Linked DNA regions of Homo sapiens: region 2 is linked to region 1. Evidence: promoter capture Hi-C in human tissues and cell types (Jung and others, 2019). All regions are on one chromosome and are shown on one strand. Each heading gives the region's core, a stretch centred on a gene start or on the middle of the fragment in contact. The rest is flanking DNA. Distances are from core to core; before and after follow the strand shown. Region 1 holds the start of LFNG (LFNG O-fucosylpeptide 3-beta-N-acetylglucosaminyltransferase). Region 2 overlaps LOC105375130 (a long non-coding RNA gene).

Evidence for each region. The method cuts DNA at HindIII sites, captures the fragments that hold promoters and counts their contacts. A contact is called where the count stands out against the background at its distance.
Region 2: a fragment that was not itself captured here is called in contact with the fragment with the promoter of LFNG in region 1 in 1 of the 25 tissues and cell types used here (lymphoblastoid cells).

What each region holds. Positions count from the first base shown.
Region 1 is chr7:2,518,524-2,523,661 of GRCh38, forward strand. LFNG (LFNG O-fucosylpeptide 3-beta-N-acetylglucosaminyltransferase) reads left to right here and starts at 1,251. Exons shown (of 8, transcript NM_001040167.2): 1 at 1,251-1,770. The coding sequence starts at 1,339. RefSeq lists silencers at 777-1,306, 1,317-1,426 and enhancers at 3,358-3,487, 3,528-3,587, 4,454-4,966. The HindIII fragment of the contact is 23,923 bases long and covers 1-5,138 here.
Region 2 is chr7:3,091,761-3,097,253 of GRCh38, forward strand. It overlaps LOC105375130 (a long non-coding RNA gene), which reads right to left. Exons shown (of 2, transcript XR_007060191.1): 2 at 2,366-3,825. Among named protein-coding and RNA genes, the nearest start is that of CARD11, 51 kb to the left of the region's middle. The HindIII fragment of the contact is 3,745 bases long and covers 1,600-5,344 here.

The sequences.
Region 1 (5,138 bases), core at 1-2,500:
ACTATGTCCCAAAACCTGTTCCAGGTCTGAATGACACCAGGTCGCTGCTGTCTTGCGGCTGACATTCAGGTAGAGGTAAGGAGAGGGGCTCCAAGGGCACTTAAAGAATTTAAAATGCCATCTCAGGCGTGAACATAACTCCGAGGGGGGCAGTTTAGCCACGGTGGTGGCGGTGGTGGTCGTGGTGGTCGCAGAGACCCTGCTTAGGAGGGCACGGGAAGACAGCGCAGCCACGGGCAGAGCCGCCTCCGTCCACGCTTCCGGAGGACGTGGCGGGCAGGGGGCTCACACCCTGCTCAGGCGACCCTTGGCCACTTCCGGGCCCCTCGCCCCTCACCCTCGGCTGCCGGCGCGCATTCCTGCCGCCCCCGCTCGTGCGAGGGGCGGGCCCGGGCCCGTGGGAAGGGCCGGGGATGGGGGCCGTGTGCCGGGGAGGCGGGGTGGGGAGGGCGCACAGCTGGGCCGCATCTGGCCCGAGCGCAAGGAGACCAAATGGGACAGAAGGCGGCCTTTCATCCGGCGAGGGAAGTGGCGGCCTTCGTTTCTCCTCGCCATGGGGCGCCTGAGGATTTCGGGGAGCCAACCCTCCCGACGGAGGGCCAGGATCGAGGAAATCAGCCAGGGAGGAAGGAGTGGAATTTGGTTCTGGTGCTTTCTCGTTAGAACCTCGTGTCCCCACCTGCGGCACAGGTGGCCAAGCTCTTGCTCTGTACAAATAACGGCTCCCCTGAACCGAGCGCTCGGGAAGACCCAGGCGCCACCCCAGTTTGCAAGGCCTGCCGCGTCCCAAGGGGAGGAAGCCGTGCTCAGGAGGGGAAGCGCACAGCGAGGAAGTAGGATGTCCCCCGCGGTGCGTCGGAGCCCAGAGCCCGGGTCTCAGCACCCTGCCCGCTGCGCCGAGGGCGCGCCCCTCCCGTGCCGGGACGCCCGGTGCATCCCCGGACGGCGCTGGCCAGGCTGGGTTTCCTCTTCAGGGACACCGGCGCGGGCCGGGCCCGTCCCCAAGCCCCTCGGCGGCCCGCAGGGGCTACCCGGGGCGGGGGGGGTGCGGGGCGTGCACGTGCGCGCCGGGGGCGGGGCCGCTGCGCCCTCTGGGCAGTTCCCAGCCCCCAGCCGCGGCCCCACGTGGGTCTGCGGGCGTGGAGCGGCGACCGGCGCGAGGCCCCGCCCCCGAGCCCGGGAGCCAATGAGCGCACGGGGGCGGGACCGGGGCGGGGAGGTTTAAGAGCGCGGGACACTGGTGCTGCGCTGCTGGACTGCGCCGCCGGAGCGACGGGCTTCGGGTCGGTGCAAGGCAGGCGCACGGGGAAGGGCGCGCCGCGCGGCCGCCACCCCACCATGCTCAAGCGCTGCGGCCGGCGCCTGCTGCTGGCGCTGGCGGGCGCGCTGCTCGCCTGCCTGCTGGTGCTCACCGCCGACCCGCCGCCGCCTCCACTGCCCGCCGAGCGCGGCCGGCGCGCGCTGCGCAGCCTGGCGGGCCCCGCGGGGGCTGCCCCGGCGCCCGGGCTGGGGGCGGCGGCGGCGGCGCCCGGGGCGCTGGTCCGCGACGTGCACAGTCTGTCCGAGTACTTCAGCCTGCTCACCCGCGCGCGCAGAGATGCGGGCCCGCCGCCCGGGGCTGCCCCCCGCCCCGCCGACGGCCACCCGCGCCCCCTGGCCGAGCCGCTCGCGCCCCGAGACGTCTTCATCGCTGTCAAGACCACCAAAAAGTTCCACCGCGCGCGCCTCGACCTGCTGCTGGAGACCTGGATCTCGCGCCACAAGGAGATGGTGAGCCCCCCGCGGCCTGGACTGGCGGGCGAGCGGGGCGGGGACCCACCATCTGGTCCAGCTGGTGGCAGTGTCCCATGGGAGTCAGGCTGCATCCCCATCCAGCCACTAGGGCCATCTGTGGGCGACGCCAGTGCACCCCGGTGCACCCAGTTTGCCTGCTGGGGCCACTCTCCCGTTACAGTTGTGTTACTGTCCCCGGGGCCCCGCCTCCTGTCCAGCTCCAGAGTCCTGGATGGCTGCAGGACCCTACACCAGTCTCCAGTGCTTGGGGTTGGTGCCCTGTGATACTTCTCACCCCGTAAACATTGGAGCGCATTCATAGGGCATTATGTCCTCAAACTTCCACAAGCAAATTCTGTTCGGACCCACCCTCAGCTCAGACCCCTTCCTGGGGAGAAAGGCTCTTCCTTTAGAGAAGTGAGGGGTTCTGACCTCTGGGCCCTTTCCTCATCACAGTGTTAAGGTACGGGGAGGGAGGGAAGTCATTGCTGGTTGGTGGGTCCTGGGGAGTACATCTCAAAGAACTCCAGGTTTTGGGGTCTGTGTGGGGACCCTCCCCGCACAGTGCAGTAGTCTCTGAGGCCTGCAACCTTGGGCACAGCCCACTTCAGTTGGGCATCAGCTTCTTACACACACATAATTAAGACACACCCCACTTTGAACATTTCCCTCGAGGCCACAGCAGGACGGTTGGGCTGGGGCGGGATGGGGACAGTGTGTGGGGCTTGCAGTCGGGGACTGGGGGGGTGTCTCTGGGCTGGGAGATGCAGAGGCATTTGCTGTGAGGGTGGGGGCTCAGGGAAGACCCTGCACGCCTTCCTCCCTGCTCAAACCCCGGAGACCCAGGGCCTTCTGACCTGGCGCTGTCCTGTTTTGGGGCACTGTGGGTGGGTGGGAGCAGGGCTTGGTGAGGTCATGAGGGCGACGGGGAGGGGCAGGGTCCTCCCTGGTCCTGGCGTGGGGAAGGGGCCCTGGGAACCCCATGGCAGCCTCCTGGGAACACAGCGTCCCATTCCCAGGGGCTCAGCGGGCTGGCGGGAGGGGGCGGCGGGGGCCGTGGGTTTTGTTTGGCGGCCGGGCCGTTAGGATTCCCAGCGCCGGGCGGCTCTCACGCCGGCCCCTTGGGCAAGGTAACAAAGCCCCTTTCTCCAGCGAGAAAGGCGTCGGGCCCCTTGTGTGCAGCTACGCGCTCCGTGGGAACCGCTGCTGGCGTGCTGGCCACTCAGGTTGCCTGGCGATGAGGGGACCAGCGGGCCCCCCCAGCATCTCTTACTGACAGTCCTTTTGGGGCACCATCCCTGAGCCTGGCCCCCCCACCCCCAGCACTCAAGCCTTACTGCTATGTGATCTTGGGCATCCTTCAGCCCCACTCTGGGCTACCACCAGCTCTGAGCACCTCTCATCTTGGAATTTGGGGCCTTTCTCCAACAGAGGGGATGTGGTCAGAGGGCTGGGCTGTGTGATCCTGAGCAAGACCTGGGGCCTCTCAGACCCTCACTCTGATCTCTGAAATGGGGGAACATGGTCCTTCCAGGAGCACGTTGTAAGAGACTGGCAAAGCCTGCAGGCATGGGGTGAACCCGGCGGGCACTCAGGGTCGAGGTGGGGGCCATCACTCCCTTGAGCCCTGAGGTCCCTACTGGAGGGTCACCCCACCAGGGGACAGGTTGAATCTGCCCTCAGCATCAGTTCACCAGCACACAGCAAGCAAAGACCCCCTTGTGGTGGGTGATGGGCAGGGGTCCTGGAAACCCACAGAAGAGGGCCCCCCTCTCCCAGCCCTGCACGGAATGACTCAGACATGGTCTGATGGGGGAGATAGAAAGATGTCAGGGCTGTGCGGGGGGAAAACCCCGAGAGGCTGTGTGAGGCAACAGTGGGCATCTGACCCACATGCTGGGGGAAGGGAGGGAGGAGGGAAGACTTCCTGGAGGAGGCGCCATTTGAGCTAGACTAAGAGTAAAAAAGTGCCCAGAAAGGGCACTCCATCCGGGCATGGTGATGACCACAGCATGGGGGTTGTGCAGGAAACTTCTAGCAACTGGAGTGGTGGCTGGGGGGAGGGTCGGTTGGTCAGCAGGGGCCGCGCTGAGATGGGCCTGGAGTCCAGGATGAAGAGCCTGGCCTTTGGCCCAGAGGTTCCCCGCCCCTCCCAGGAGCAGCCAGGCTGCCGCGCTGCCACCACAGCGGCCACAATTGCTGGGGAGAACTTGGCATCCTGTGTTTCTTTGAATCGCGGCTCCAGGAACAATGCTGCTTCCTGTGGGTGTCCCCCGGCCCCCGCCCCCGTCCACCCTCATCCACCCGGCTCTTCCTCCTGCAGCCCCGTCTTCGTCTGGAAAGTTAGGTGGCACTGGGGGGTCTGGGTCCCTAGAAGGCAGGGACTGGGCTGGTCTAGCACCGCCTCGGCCCCAGGGTATGACCTCAGGCTGGTGCCTGCACCTCTCTGGGCCTCAGTTTCCCCACTTGGGCCTCAGCTGGTAATGGCACCCACCTCCGAGGGCTGTCAGGGAGAGGAAGGGAGAGAATCTGTCTTTGCACTTTGTTCTCTGCCCAGGGGAGCTCTGTTATGCCCATTTTACTGAAGACGAGACTGAGGCTCTGAGCGGCAGGTGAGGCCTATAGCCCAGCAGCGCCTTTTTCCTCCCCTCCTGGTGGCTCAGGTGTCGGGAGACAGTTCGACCGGCACCCCCGCACCCCATAGCCCCGCCTTCTCAGATGCTGTTCTAGAGGCCTCCCTGCTCCCTGAGCTGAACAAAGGTGACTTTAATCTCCGTAGCCTTGGGCTGGGTTTTTAGGGCACCACCAAATCTCGGGAGAACAGGCCTCCCTTGATCTCATTAAGAAAGCATTTTCCTTTTAACCCAGCGGCGCAGTGGAGCGTCTGCAGGGGCTGGCCCTCCGCCTCCCACGGCATTCCTGGGCTGAGATTCTGGGGAGGCCAAGGGGCTGGGTGCGAGTCTGTGCGTGTGGCTGCCCTGGGGTGTCTATGGGTGCTGCAGGAGGGGTGCATGCATGGAGAGGCGGAGACCCAGCCTGCCACCCCCTTAGCTCTGGGCCTCACCCTAGTGAGCATGTGCCCAGGGCTGGGTCAGGCTGGATAAGGATCTGAGACTACCAAGGTGTTCCAGGGCCTCTGCGGGACCTGTGTGTACAGGGAAGGAAACTGAGGCTGGGTGGGCATCAGGGGGTTGTCCCTTGGTCAGAGCATTGCCCGTACACCCTGGGTTTTGCACTCAGCCATGCCAGGGTGCGCCGGGCGGCACGCGCTGGGCGGGCCGGGCAGAGGAAGGAACATTCCTCCCCGTGTGCCGGCAGGCCCAGGCGGGCGCCGGCGACTCCTGGCCCCGCCCTGGCGGCCCCCT
Region 2 (5,493 bases), core at 2,222-4,721, 580 kb after region 1:
ATCTCCTGCACAGTCTCCTCCCTCTCTGAGTCTGCTTCCTGGGGCACCCACCCCTCCACCCTCCGGCAGGAGAAGGGATCAGAGACAGTACAGAGTGGAGGAGGGGATGGGCTCTCTAAGTCAGATGGAGCGAGCTCACGGCCTGCACTGGGTGGTGACGGAAGAGACCCAGGCAAGGAGGGCGCCTGTCAGGGCTAAATCATGTCCCCACAAACGATGTTAAACCTCCAAAAGATCATGTCCTAACCCCCAATGCCTGCAAATGCCATCTTATTTGGAAACAGGGTCTTTGCAGATAATCAAGTCAAGATGAGGTTCTTAGGGTGGGCCCTAAACCAAGATGACTAGTGTCTTCATGAAAAGGGAAATTTGGACACAGACACACAGGAGAGCACACGTGAGGATGAAGGTGGAGATCAGAGGGATGCGTCTACAAGTCGAGGATCACTGCAGATTGTGGAGAACCACCGGGAGCTGGGGAGAGGCCTGGGGCAGGTTCTCTGCCCCCAGAAGGAACCAACCCTACCAACACCTTGATCTTGGACCTCTGGCCTCCAGCCCCATGAGGCCATACATTTCTGTTGTTTAAGTTGCCCTGTTTGTGGTACTTTGTCGTGGCAGGCCCAGCATACTAATATAGGACCCAAGAGGTAGCTGGGGAAAGATTGGGCAAACTGTGTGCATGGCATCATTACTCAGGTCAAAAATTTGAAATGAAGCTCAAACTTAAAAATATTGGTAAGTATGAAAAAAAAAGCATGATAAAAAAAAAAAAAAGAAAAGCTATTGCTGCTAAAGGAAGAAGGGTAGGGTTTCCCCACCTCCATCAGCTTGCAAAAATGAGGCTGGTGACGTGGCTGTGGGTCTCATTTCCTGCACGGCCTGTTGGGGTTTGTGTAGTTTCTGGGCACTCAGCTTGAGAGGCTGACCTCCCAAAGGCATTGGGAGCCTGCGGGAGCCAGCCAGGGGGAGCACAGCTGTGCAGCCATGCCTGTTTGTCCTGACCCTACAGCAGGACGCAGGCGCCCCACCACCCAGAACCCCAGAACCGGATGTAGGAGGTGGTGAGAGCTGCATTGGTTGATTTCCTATTTTCTTCCTTCCTATTTTTTTTTTTTTAATTTTTTAGAGCAAGGTCTTGCTCTGTTGCCCACGCTGGAGTGCAGTGGTTCAATCATAGCTCACTGCAGCCTCTACCTCCCGGGCTCAAGCAATCCTCCTGCCTTAGCCTCCTGAGTAGCTGAGACCACAGATGCATGCCACCATGCTCGGCTAATTTTTAATTTTTTTTTTTTTTTTTGTAGAAAAGGGGGGTCTTGCTATGTGGCTCAGGCTGGTCTCAAACTCTGAAGCTCAAGTGATCCTCCCACGTTGGCTGCCCAAAGTGTGGGGATTATAGGCGTGAGGCACCGCACCTGGCCTGATCTCCTATTTCAGTAATGTATCACCTCCTGTGCAAAGAAGGAAGATTGTTGCAAATTAAACATAAAAACATGAAAGCTTTTCAAGCTGGGTATCTAAGTAGCCTTTTCATTCCCACCAACTCCATGACAGATTCCTATATGTGTTGTGCATAACCATTATTAAAATAACAATATCGCCCTGTTGGAAGAATTCAGAATGTCACTAGAACATTCTAAAGATAAAGGCCAAAAAAAACCCAAACCCCCCCCCCACACACACAAAAAACACAACCAAGCTTTATCTTTGGAACAGAATAAGGTTAAAAAAAATTAAAATAATCACAAAGGTATGATTTAATCTTTACAATGTTATAAATATTAATATGAAAAAGACTTTATATTGGGAAACATTATTATACAGTATAACGCTAATTTTATGAAAATCAATTCATTTAGTGCTCATACATTTTTTACCTCTCTCTTTGGCTTTTGCTGACGATTTACGTCTTATCATTTTCTACTTCAACACCTACCACCTTGCACTGGGGTACAGTGCAGGATTTGGACATCACAATTTTTTCTTCAGTAATGCCCCAAGGTTTCCCACAGATAAGAGGAGAAGGTTGGCCAGGTGTGGTGGCTCATACCTGTAATGGCAGCACTTTGGAAGGCTGAGGTGGGAGGATCACTTGAGCCTGGGTGTTTGAAATCAGTCTGGGTAACATAATGAGACCTCATCTCTATTAAAATTAAAAAACTAGCCAGGCATGGTGGTGAACACCTATAGTCCCAGCTACTCGGGAGGCTGAGGCAGGAGGATCACTTGAGCCCAGGAGGTTGAGGCTGCAGTGAGCCATGATTGTACCACTGCACTCCAGTCTGGGCCCCAGAGCAAGATCCTATCTCAAAAACAGCAACAACAAAAGAATAGGATGTTGCCAAAATAGGACAAACAACTGAGCTGAACGTTGGATGTTTTTAATCATAAGCATGGCTTGATTTACATCACTCCCTTCAGAAATGCAAAGGCTTCAGACATCGAGCCAAAGGCAAAACCATTGCAGGTATGTGGGGCCGGGAGAGCCCCAGCGAAGTCAGCTTGGTGCCCACTCCAGGCAGGCACAGGGCCAGCCCTGCTATGCTCCTTATCTCCTTTAATCCCCTAGCAACCCCAGAAGGTAGGTTTGTGATGATCCACACTCTGCAGATGAGGAAACTGAGGTTCAAGAGAGTTACTAACTTGCCCCTGGACATGCCCCTGGGAAGTGGCCGGGATGAGTTGGAAACCCATATCTACTTAGCTCCATGGTCCGGCTCTGTGTGCACTAAGACATCAATTACCCCCCGGGACTGGAAACCAGAAGGAGGCGGGCAATAGGTTGTGTTTGCTGACGGATCCCACCCAGAACTGATCCTACTGGATCTCCCTTAGGGAGACTCAGGAATCCTCACTACAGTGAATTACATGCACAGTTTTGGTGGCCAGAGGGGCATTTAGATGATGGCTACAGGAGTGCTTTTTTGAAAGCTTCATTAACTATACAAGTCAATACCCTATTGCAATTTCCATGAAATGGGTAATTCGGTGAAGTTCTTTTTTAACAAAATGTTGCATCAATGAGGGAATTCAGGGTGGGAGATCAACAGGAAGTTACAGTTGGAACCAATTTCAACCCACATAGAAAGATCCGGAAGCCTTGCAAGGAGACCATCACAGTAATCCGGCGTGAGAGTGCCGAGGCGTAGCTGCTGGAATCATCGCCCATTTTTCTAATTTGCAGCCTAGGAGCTGATCGTGCAACCCTGTTAGGGAGCTAATATAGGATGAAGATGGGACAAGTTGGTGTCGAGAGTAACACGCCGGCTCCTTAGCGGAGGTCTGAAGAACAATCGAGTTGAATTAATTTCTAAGAGACCCCATGACAGATTCTTGATGATGATCCCCAATTAGGGAAACCTCGGTTTCGTTTTTGTTTAATGTCAGGAAGTTAAGAGGCTGTGGGCGGATGGCTGTGAAAGACACGGAGGGTGAAAGCCTTGCCTCTCTTGAAACGTATGGGGCCGTGGCTGCAGGTCCTTTCATGCCTTCTCCAAAGAGGAAGTCGTGAAATCTGTGTGTCTCAGCCCATGTCCAAAGAGGGAAACGCTGTGATGAGAAGATACAGCGGTTCAACTCATTCTGGAGCCCACAGAGGCTTAAAAGAGGGGGAGAATCTGTTTCATGAAAAAGGGAAAGATTCAGTCTTGAACCAGATGAATGTGCCTGGGTGAAAATGCGTCAGTGGTACCAGAAAATCCAGACAGAATCCTTCCTCTGGGTTTTTCCCAAATCAACAAGTGTCTTTGGTTGCTGGGACGCAGGGAGAGAGCTGTTCATGGAGGAGCGTGGGAGGTCACATTCTTGAGGCCTGTTTAGTTTATCCTGTTAAAAGGAGGAGATGTGAGGCCAGGCACAGTGGCTCACACCTGTAATTCCAGCACTTTGGGAGGCCAAGGCAGGTGGATCACTTGAGGTCAGAGGATTGAGACAAGCCTGGCCAACATGGTGAAATCCCATCTCTACTAAAAATAAAACAAACAAACAAACAGAAACGCCTGGCGTGTTGGCTCACGCCTGTAATCCCAGCACTTTGGGAGGCTGAGGCAGGCGGATCACCTGATGTCAGGAGTTCAAGACCAGCCTGACCAACATGGAGAAACCCCGTCTCTACTAAAAATACAAAATTAGCCAGGGGTGGCTATGCATGCCTGTAATCCCAGGTACTCAGGAGGCTGAAGCAGGAGAATCGCTTGAACCCAGGAGGCTGAGGTTGCAGTGAGCCGAGATAGTGCCATTGCACTCCAGCCTCGGCAACAGAGTGAGACTCCATCTCAAAATAATAATAATAATAATAATAATAATAATAATAATACACCATATATTAGGGAAGAGATTTTTGTTTTTTTTTTAAACCACTTTCAGTCTCTTGATATCTCATTGCAAGTAAATAACCAAAGTACAGCCTGGTCTGGACAGGAGATCACCTCAATTTGGGGCAGCTCACACAATACAGTCTAAAATGTGGATGTTGCTGGGGGCGACCTCATTAGTCAGGCAGTCACCCCTGTGAGAGGGCGATGCGTCCCACTGCCAAGACGCTCAAGTACCAATATGGAATGCCAGTCCCTTAAAAGATTTTCCCTCCCTACGTCCCTGCGAAAGAGAGGCTGCCTGGATAATAGTCTTTCAATGTGTTGTGAAAAAAAAAATAGTGTTTCTAGCAAAAGTGTTAAAGTTTTATGGGAAAGTAAATTACTGTCTACCTGGTATAGATGCTTTTCGCGATGTAGCAGGCATTAATTACACATCTGAATGTGACAAGATCAGTCTTCGGTTTACTGAATTGAAGACGGTCTGCTCACCAGGAGGGGGTTTTCCTGAATATCATCAGGGTTCCTCCTCCTACTCCATGTCCGGTTTTACTGTGTACTCCTGGGATGGGATCTGAGGCTGGAAAGAGCTAGAAAACCCCTCCGAGTCCCCCCAGAGAGATGGTAGCCTGTACACCCAGGTGGATTTTGGTCACTGAAAGAATCAGTCTTCTTTTTTTCTCATCTTAAAATATCTGGACAAGGAAGTGGCTAGGATTATTGTGGGAGAAACTAGCTCATTGGTGGTTCTGGGATATGAACCCAGGATTCTCGGCCAGCATTCCAGCAACAGGGACTGATATGCTTTGGCTGTGTCCCCACCCAAATCTCATCTTGAATTGTAGCTCCCATCGTTCTCACGTGTTGTGGGAGGACCCGGCGGGAGATAATTGAATCGTGGGGGCGGTTTCCCCCCATACTGTTCTCATGGTAGTGAATCAGTGTCATGAGGTCTGATTTTATAAGGGGGAACCTCTTTTGCTTGGTTCTCATTCTCTCTTGCTTGCTGCCATGTAAGACGTGCCTTTTGCCTTCTGCCATGATTGTGAGGCCTCCCCAGCCATGTGGAACTGAGTCCGTTAAACCTCTTTGTCTTTATGAATCACTCAGTCTTGGGTATGTCTTTATCAGCAGTGTGAAAATGAACTAATACAAGGACCTTCCCACCCTGCACTCCACA